2 separate regions of the Homo sapiens genome follow, and region 2 is linked to region 1. The links are contacts of gene promoters, found by promoter capture Hi-C in human tissues and cell types (Jung and others, 2019). All regions are on one chromosome and are shown on one strand. The core of a region is centred on a gene start or on the middle of the fragment in contact, and the rest is flanking DNA. Distances in the headings are between cores, read along the strand shown. Region 1 overlaps FBXW4 (F-box and WD repeat domain containing 4). Region 2 holds the start of NPM3 (nucleophosmin/nucleoplasmin 3).

Region 1 (4,760 bases), core at 666-3,165:
TGGCCTTTGCATGTATTTTTTAAGGTGTCTCCAAGCCCTGTCTTCATTTCACAGTTGTCACCTTTCTCAGCAATTTGAGCTCATGTCAAATACCAAAAAAGAAGAGGAAGAAGAAAGAATGTGCTGGCAATTAATTGTGGGCTAAAGAGGGGCGGCAGGCACAGGGGCCCATTGGGTGGCCCAGACTTCCAGGGAGGGCAATGTGGACAGTTTGGATAAAATGAAGAAATGACTCAAAATTGAGACAAGGCAGCCAAACCTCTAACAGGAGATAAATTCTTTCTCCAGATAGTCTCATACTCATTTTTAGAGAAAGCTCAAATATTTACATGATTCAGGGTACATAAACATATTCTTAATTACCATAACCATTTTGATTCAATTGATTACAATTGGAGTTCCATCTGAGCAAGACTACTGAATAGGAAGGACTTTCCTCAAGGGTAAACCAAATCTTTGGATTCTCAACCTTGACTCATGGTTGACACACCTGAGGTAAATTCTGAAGCTTAGCAAAAGTCAGTTTCTGCAGATCAAAGAAGGGAGTCTGCCAATTTTCACTGAAAATTCAAAACCCAATTTTCTCCTCTTTTTTTCAAACAGTTGATCTCATCTTAATTTTCAAATATTTTTGGAGCCTGGTCTCAATAAGAATCTGCCTAAATTTCTCCCAGTTCCATGGTTACAAGTCAGGACCAGAAACTAATCCAGTGCCAGGGTCAACCCAGAGCTAAGGTTAAGTTGTCACACACACGTAATTCTTTTCTAAGTCACACATTCAAAAATAATTTTTTAAAAAACCTGTATACTTCCTCAGTGACCTCACTGTCAGTTGGGGATTTCAGCAGCTCAAGCACAATCTTTACCTTAGATGAAGGTTCCAGGTGCAAAAAAAAAAAATGAAAGTATGGAGTACCGAAATATTTTCAGAGCTCTCATTCCAGTATGAACTCATACTACAGATTGCTCATCTCACAGACTGTGAAGACATTGGGTTTCTCCATGTTTCTGCCTTGAAAGCTAGAAAATTCAGCCCCTACCATTCAAGTTTTACAAGACTGGAAAGGATATAAACAGCTTCTGTATTCTCATGGTCTTAGAGAAGGCTTCTTCCATTCTTCCAGTTCGCATTTGGAGGTAGTGATTGCACTAGACCATGTCCTGCTTCCACAGGTGTACTGTTTTATTTTGAACCTGTAAACTAAACTCTATTTTATTAACTCATAGAAACCATTAAAAATAAGGCCTTTCCAAACGCCGAAGACAATAAATACATCCATATTCGAAATCATTCCGTGAATTACAGAACAAATAAGTGACTGTCCTCCCTGGGTAAGGCAGAAAACTGGAGAAAGCCTAAGCTACTTTGAGTTGTTAATTGTTTTCTGAAGATCACAGTTTAGGCCTTAAATGTAACCAGTTAGCAATACCATCTCCATTCAGGGTTAGGAAACTGGTTAGGAAACTATATGCTTTCTGGGTCAAGAAAATGCTCTTAGGCACAATCATTTTAAAACAAATAAACACACTCTGCTTATCTGTGTCTATCTCACCACTCTGGACGTTAATCATCACTGAAATAGATACCCCAGGCCCCCAGCCTCAAAGAGCTCCAAGGCTACAGGACCCCTCCACAGGAATGAATGTACATGCCAGGACAAACACCTCAGGAGCCTCACTCCCTAAACACCTATTGTTAATTCCAGGCAAATCTATCATAGGCAAATGCAAGACAGCACCCAGGTACTGCTCAAAGGCTATTTAAAATAAAATTCCTATTTGAGAATATGTAGCACTTAATTCGGGAGGAAGAGGATCAAGTAAGCTTTCTTTAACATAAGACTGGCAATAGAATCTTTTAAAAATAGCTTTACATGCACAGATGTACTTTTTCTTTCCATTATTTGCGTTTGTTAATTTTCAGTATCAGAATTTGCAGATAGCGCTCCTGTTCTTCCCCTGTCATAATGTCTACTTCTTGCATTCAGTCTACATTATCAAGTGACAGCTGAATTCCACTGTCTTGTTCTTGTAAACGGAACTAGGTTAGTTTGTCCTCTTACTCTTTAGGGAAAATTTGAAAGACTGCTATATGAAACATTTCTTTGATTTTTATTGTTATATTCAGGATATTTCTATTCCAACAGGCTTCATAAAATCTCCAAACAAAACTGATTTTAAATCAGATGACTGACTCCAACTATCTTTGTGTCCCTTTAAAAAAAAAAGAAAAGTAAGCTTAGGATATCTATTAGTGTTCACTGTTCGGGCAAGAGGCCTAAAGGGAAGCAAATTATTTGTTTGTGGTTTTAAAGTGGCCAGAATGCCTTCAAGCACAAGTATAAGACCATTAGCAAATCACAAGGAACCAAAGCAGTTCATCTTACTCAACAAAGCTATGATCAGTTAGGAACAGCCAAACTGAATGGGACTTGCCCTGGGCCGGAAGGTCAGTAAACCTTAGCAGTTTGTGTTTCTGAGAATCAAGAGGCTCTTCGTCCCGGAGTGCAGGCCATAAGTCCACAGGTTCTGCTGTCATGTTTCCAAAAACATTCAGGACAGGTGAGAGAAACGAAGCACAGTGCGTGTGTGTGCGTGTTCTTCCCTTTGTCTTTAGTCAGCACCTCTAAGTCAAACCATCCCCACTTTTGCTATATACAGACTAACTAGAGGAGAACCCAAACAATTAAAAAGTTCCGTTTTACAATTTATTGTGTGCTTACTATGTGCTTAATGCTGTACTAGCCAGCATTCTACACTTAAGCCTCATTTTACCAGGCAAGGTTATTCCCATTCTTTATAGGTAATAAAACCTAGGGCCAGTGAGGTTATGTGGCTTCTGGTCAAATCAAGTTTTGTGTAATGCTGATAAAAACTCATCTCACTTATCTAGTCTGCAGTTAATTAGCCCAAAGCAATGAACGACAGCCCTGCCACTATCCAAGCAGCCATACTCTTGCTGTACTTTGGGCCCGGGTTCGCTGACTCCCTAAGTGGACTGGGGTGCATGCCTTCTCCCTCCAGGGATGACAACCACCTCTCTCAGTGGCTTATTAAGTCTCTGCAGCTGTCCAGAAACGGACCACACTGGTAAACATTCTCTCCACCTGCTGTAACACGCATAACTTCTTCCCTCAATCCAGAAAACCCGAGCAGTGACCCTGCTCTTTATCAAGTGCTATGGCAAAATAACTTCCCTAGAAGGCCAGGACACCTTACCCTAGGACATGGGCGAGAAATCAAAACACACATGTCTAATAAATAATAAAGCCATATCATTTGGCAATCTCAAAGCATTTTACACCATAAATTCACTTTCTTTTTTTTTGTTGTTATTATTGCTACAGAATGTAGATTCATTCCCAATATCTCTCTTTTAGAGCATTTGAAAATAAACATCAATTCTTTCATTCATTCACTCAATCTCTATATGAAGAGAGAGAAAGCCAAACTTTGCCTTAGCTAGCTTGGGTTACAGTCACTTTAGACTTCTCTTATAGGTTAACTGATAATATTCTTTGAAAGAGTTATTCTCATGAGAAAGGAAGAGAATAAAAAACTATTTCTGCAGGTGACAAGACTGCATGCCCAAGAAGTCCCAAGGAACCATTATCATGAATACAATCATCCTAGAATAAAAAACCATCAAATTCAAAATTTACAAGAGTAGAGTAATCTTCTACATTCAGTAATACCCAGCCAGAAAACATACTGAAGAGAGTGTATTTGCAATAAAAACGAAATGCATAACATTTTCGGAAATACATAGGAGTAAGTGCAACAACAGATATGTAAGAACTTTATCATGAAAACCACAAAAGTCCTTGAAAAAGTACAGAATTTTTTTTTTTGACAGAGAGTTGAACAGAAGTGTAGAAGTGACACACACACATAAATCCAACAGGATAATCTTACCCTGACAGATTACTAGACTCTATCAAAAAGTAACAATATTTAAAATAGTATGGAAATGGAAAACTGTATCAGTGACACACAATGAAGAGTTCAGATATAGATCCAATATACACACATATATGTCTATGTGTATATACATGTGTATATTATATATAATATATATATAAACTTATTATATGGCAAAATAAGCTGTCCAAAACAAAGGAAAAGAGAATTACTTAACAAAGTTGTAGACAACAATAGTAAGTTGAATTCACCTCTTGCACCAAAAGTGATATTGATGAAAGTGTTAACTATTAAAAAATTAAATTAGGCCAGGCGCCATGGCTCATGCCTGTAATCCCAGCACTTTGGGAGGCCGAGGTGGGCAGATAACCTGAGGTCGGCAGTTCGAGACCAACCTGACCAAGATGGAGAAACCCTATCTCTACCAAAAATACAAAATTAGCTGGGTGTGGTGGTGCATGCCTGTAATCCCAGCTACGCAAGAGGCTGAGGCAGGAGAACCGCTTGAACCCAGGAGGTGGTGAGCCGAGTGCACACCACTGCACTCCAGCCCGGGCAACAAGAGTGAAACTCCGTCTCAAAAAAAAAAAAAAAAAAAAAATCAAATTTGTAAGAAAACCAGTGGGAAACAGATTTATCAGGTCTGTGGAGGAATTATAAATTTCTCAGCTTTGGGGAGAAAAAGAGAAAAAAATCACAAAAGACTGGCAGAGCCTAATAAAGTGTAAAACAGTAAAGTAAAATGAATTGACTGGGAAAAATATCTGGATCAAAGATGACAGACTAGATTCTAACATCTAAGACCCACAAAGATTCCAAATTTATAGGAAAAACAAGAA
Region 2 (4,315 bases), core at 950-3,449, 93 kb after region 1:
ACGCTGGGTGCTTCCACAGTGCCACCTGGCGGTCCCTAGGGAAACATCACCCAGCACAGGAAGAAGCCACACAAGAGCTGCAAAAACTCCACACCACTTTATTTCAACCTTTATCCAAAAATGTAAAAACTATTAAAAATGTGTAGCTCTGAGCTTCAGGCACTAACCTCCAATTCTCACAGGCAGGTGGGAAGGGAGGCCCCGGGCATGGTGAAAATCAGAAAACCACGGCTGTGTGGAGCACAGGCCCTCTCCTAGCACCAAAGACCCAAGTCCCTCCCACCCAACCCCCACCCAAGCTCTCCTCTTCAAGGAAGAAATATTTACAATTGTTGAAACTTGTCAGGGAACAGGGTGCATGGCGGTGCATGGCACATGGAGCTGACCTGAAAAGAGGAAACAAGGAATCAGCATTTAGGCCCTCACCTGCTTCTCCTGCCCCTTCCCAGAGCCTGCTAGGCACTTCTCCCCGCAACTCACCTAGGAGGGCTAGGGCCTGCCCCCCTGCTTTTTGGCAGGAAGGATGGGGCACAGCTCAACTTCTTCCTCATCACTGTCCTCTTCCTCTTCCTCGCTCTCCTCCTCAGAAACATCATTGCTCATCGTAACTGGTGGACACACAAGCAGTAGAAGGATGGGGTGTTAAGACCAGACCGTTTCACACCGCATGCCATTTCTTCACGCCGTGGTGTTAGGCTTACAGGGACCATGACCTCCCAGTGCTTATGGGCTAGGTGGGAAGAACCTCAGACCCTAAACTGGGTCACAAAGAGCCAAAGGAGTCTTCATTATTGGAGCTGGAGAAGTTGGGCCATGTTCCATGGAGGAGGTAGGCTTGAGTAGACGGAAAGGAGAGGGCATGTCATGCACAGGGCACAGCGTGGAGGGCACACAGACCTGTACAGGGCTGCACTGGGAGATGAGGGTGGGATGGGGCAGGAGTGCGGAGTGGGGGAAGCCTGATGGGAGAGTCCACTGGAAGCAAAGGAGAGGGCCCTCCCCTCTTCTCACCAATCTGGTGCCGCCCAGTGATCCGCACAGGGCCAGAGCCCGACTTCAGGCGGAAGGTTACAGGTGGTTGGAGCTGGAAGTCATCCAGACTGAGCTGGGAGGAAGACAAGGATGAAGGCCTGGCCCACTCCTAGCCCACCCCACACTGTAATGAGTGCTAACGTCCTCAATCCCCTCACCACCACCACCACCACCACCAAGGCAGAGCTGGGGAACTCACCATGGGTTGGCAGGACAGCTTGAGGTTGGCCACAGGGACTGCGATCTCCTGATGGTCATGGTTCCGGGCCACAACTTCTACCACATTACACTCGTCTTTGGCTCCCTCGGTGAGGCAGAGCTGGGAACGGTACACAGGGCCTCAGGGTCTCCTCAAGTGAGGGTTGACACCACAACTAAAGGCATCTACCCTAGCACCTGCCCAGCCTCAGAGGTCCCGGTTCACCTGGCCAGGGGAGCCGCCCATGCCGGGGGGTTAGGCTGAGGATGTGTCTCCAAGTAAAGGGGATCCGGAGGTTGGGTAGAGACCTATATTGCCTGCCTGGGCTTATTCATTAAAACCCCACTCCCCTGCCCCTCACCATGGTTAGTGCCAGCACGTGCTCCGCATCATCCTCTTCCTCTACCTTAAAGGTGAAGGAGCGGGTGTGGCCGGAGAGCTCACAGCCTGGTAGAAATAACAGTGAGTATGCCTGAGCGTGTGTACGGGGCTGGGCAGCGGGGGATGTCACCAACCCGCCGTCACGTGTAACCTTGGGCGGACGGGTCATTTACACGTCCACCTCCGTCTCTTCTCTCAGAACACCTGGGACGCTCTGCCGTGGGCCCCGCCCAACACATCTGGGGCAGGGATCTCGCCACCCCCTTTGGCTGTGCGTGCGAGGCCCCCTCTCCTGCGGGAACAGCGAAGCAGCCCTCCGCCCACACCCACGCCTTGAAACCCTCCGCATTCCCGCCTCACATCCCTACCTCTTACCGCCCCAGTACCACCCTCAGCCTCTCCCTTCACTAATACCGAAGAAAAAACTGTCCATAGTGACCGGGGCCGGGACCCGTAGGCCCCCGACACCCCCGGCCCGCGTTCGGCTCTCCTGACTCAAAAACGCTAAGGCAGCTGCAGTACCGGCGGCCATGCTGTAAGAGCCTTCTTCAAACTCCGCCCCCGACACGCACAAAGCCGGGGACCCTCGGCCAGTTCCGGCCCCGCCCATTAAAGGAGACGCACAGTCCTGGAAAAGAAAAGGCGCCGAGACCCCGCAGCCCTACCCGGAGCCCGCAGCTTCTGCTCATATTTTATCAAGACCGAAGAGAAAGGAAGTAACATCACAGAAGAATGGATTTGGGGTTTATGTTAACATCCTTGCTCATTTCCACGACCATGAGGGTGTCCACTTCCCCAAGCTCCTCGCTCTGTGTCGGAAGAGTGTCTCCCACTCTTCCAACCCAGGGTAAGCTTTCGTTAAAGGAGTTATAGATATAAAAATGTAAACCCTTCTTACTCCTCCCAGCAAAGGTGGGGTTCAGGGCAGTGCTTTTCTGCTACAAGCAAAGGAAATGCACTCAGATTGTCTTTGCCTCAAGAGAGCCGAGGAGCCTTAGGAATTTCCATCCCAACACGTCTGTCCTGTCTGTCCTCTCGGCTAAGCCTCTCTTAATTCTTCCTGCTCTAAAGACCCCGCAACTTGCTATGCCTTCACTGAGACTTAGCTGCTGGCACTTGCTAGCAGAGGACTAGTTAGCTCATGTGTGTTGGCTGTTCCTGGCCCACCCACGCTTTTTGAGCTTTTAATTCCAAATCATCCAGGAGTATCTTTGCGCCGTGGATTATTTTGTCAGTTTATGCTACTCGCGCCATCTTTCGCCTTTTAAGAATCAGGCAAACTGTGTGCTTTCTATCCTAATAGATGGCAAAACTCAAACTAGAGGCCCTATTTCACATCCAGGTTATAACTGTGGCAAGAGGGTGGGGTGGCTTGGCTAAAAACTAGTCTACTTTTCTTAGCTCTTGTCTTAATGAAAATCTGGAAGTCTTACTGGTGATGGAGGTAGGGGAGGGCTGCCTTCAAGATCCAATCTCTAACTTGGAACAGCTGTGGAGAGGAGAGAATACCTGCTTGTAGGTGAGGCATGAAAGAGGAGAAAAGGGAGGGGGCAGACAGGAAATAGATTCACACAATACAACACGACAAGCATTCACTTCAAGTTTTATTTTGCCTCTTGCATGGTCTTTTACAGTTCGTTTTCTACAGGAACTGAGCTCTGATCCAAACAATCAATAAAAATGTAATTCCAACCTTAATATTCATAACCAGGAAATAGCATAGCACTTCATGATCCTAGAGTGATGAAAGCAAGACCAGGGCATCTGTTTCACAGTCACCTGTGACCAGACCAGCCAACATGATTACTAAAAGCCAAGATAAAACCAAAAGCAAACTTGCTAAAAAATCCTGAATTCCATGAGGTTAACTCTGAAATCCTCCAAACAAAATGCTAGAATTGTCCACTAGTGTTAAGACGAGAAAACTGAGGAAAACTCAGCTGTCTTACTATCTGGTAAGAGTCTTCCCTTCATCTCAAGCCCTCAAAAATGCAAACTTGGTTCCAGCTTTACAACATACCATATCCTTCTATCGGTTAAAGGTTTCTAACCTAAAAACCTTCTCTCCTTTCTTCTCACCTATTTAGTGCATACTCAAAGGCTTTGGTTGGAAGTCACTAGGTACCACTAGGTACAATGCTTTAGGGCTCTCTCAAAGCCCACAATGGTGGAGTTCTGTGAAAGAAAACTTAAGTTTCTTTCTCTTTACCCCTCTCCCCTCACTCAGCTCAAAGTTAAACAGCTGATGCAAAACTACAGAGAAGCAAGATAACAAAATACTGTTATCAATCTATGGAGAAATCAGCCAGCCATGATGAAAAAATGAGTCCTGCCGACTATCTGCCAGCTTCATGCTCAGAACCCTTAAAAACACAGAATCTAAATTAAAATACATGAAGCTTTCACAATCCGGTTAAAGGAAAAAGGTAACTGTAAATAACTGGTTAAAGTGTGCTCATTCATTCAGAAATTAGATACAAACATGCAAGAATTAAAGACTCTGATTTAATAAAATCAGTAGTAACAGGTCTTGAGATTAAACAACTGACCTGAGGGCAAATGGGACCAATCAGTCCCTGAACCCTACCTGACATGTCAAATCCAACATTTCACATGCTGACCTAATATTGAGGTTAATTTCCAGAAGTAACTGCACTTTTCAACAGATTAAGTCCTACAAAATTAGGCTCTCGTACCCCAAAT

The links. The method cuts DNA at HindIII sites, captures the fragments that hold promoters and counts their contacts. A contact is called where the count stands out against the background at its distance.
Region 2: a contact is called between the fragment with the promoter of NPM3 here and a fragment that was not itself captured in region 1, in 4 of the 25 tissues and cell types used here (bladder, dorsolateral prefrontal cortex, hippocampus and 1 more).

Annotation. Positions count from the first base shown.
Region 1 is chr10:101,688,247-101,693,006 of GRCh38, forward strand. The region is part of intron 1 of FBXW4 (F-box and WD repeat domain containing 4); the gene reads right to left. Among named protein-coding and RNA genes, the nearest start is that of FBXW4, 4.5 kb to the right of the region's middle. The HindIII fragment of the contact is 4,070 bases long and covers 1-3,950 here.
Region 2 is chr10:101,781,247-101,785,561 of GRCh38, forward strand. It overlaps NPM3 (nucleophosmin/nucleoplasmin 3), which reads right to left and starts at 2,200. Exons shown (of 6, transcript NM_006993.3): 1 at 2,027-2,200; 2 at 1,593-1,678; 3 at 1,232-1,351; 4 at 1,012-1,105; 5 at 481-608; 6 at 79-386. The coding sequence starts at 2,144. The coding sequence ends at 490. OGA (O-GlcNAcase) reads right to left here. Exons shown (of 16, transcript NM_012215.5): 16 at 3,204-4,315. RefSeq lists a promoter at 1-60 and enhancers at 1-27, 1-200, 1,128-1,767. The HindIII fragment of the contact is 4,177 bases long and covers 1-3,237 here.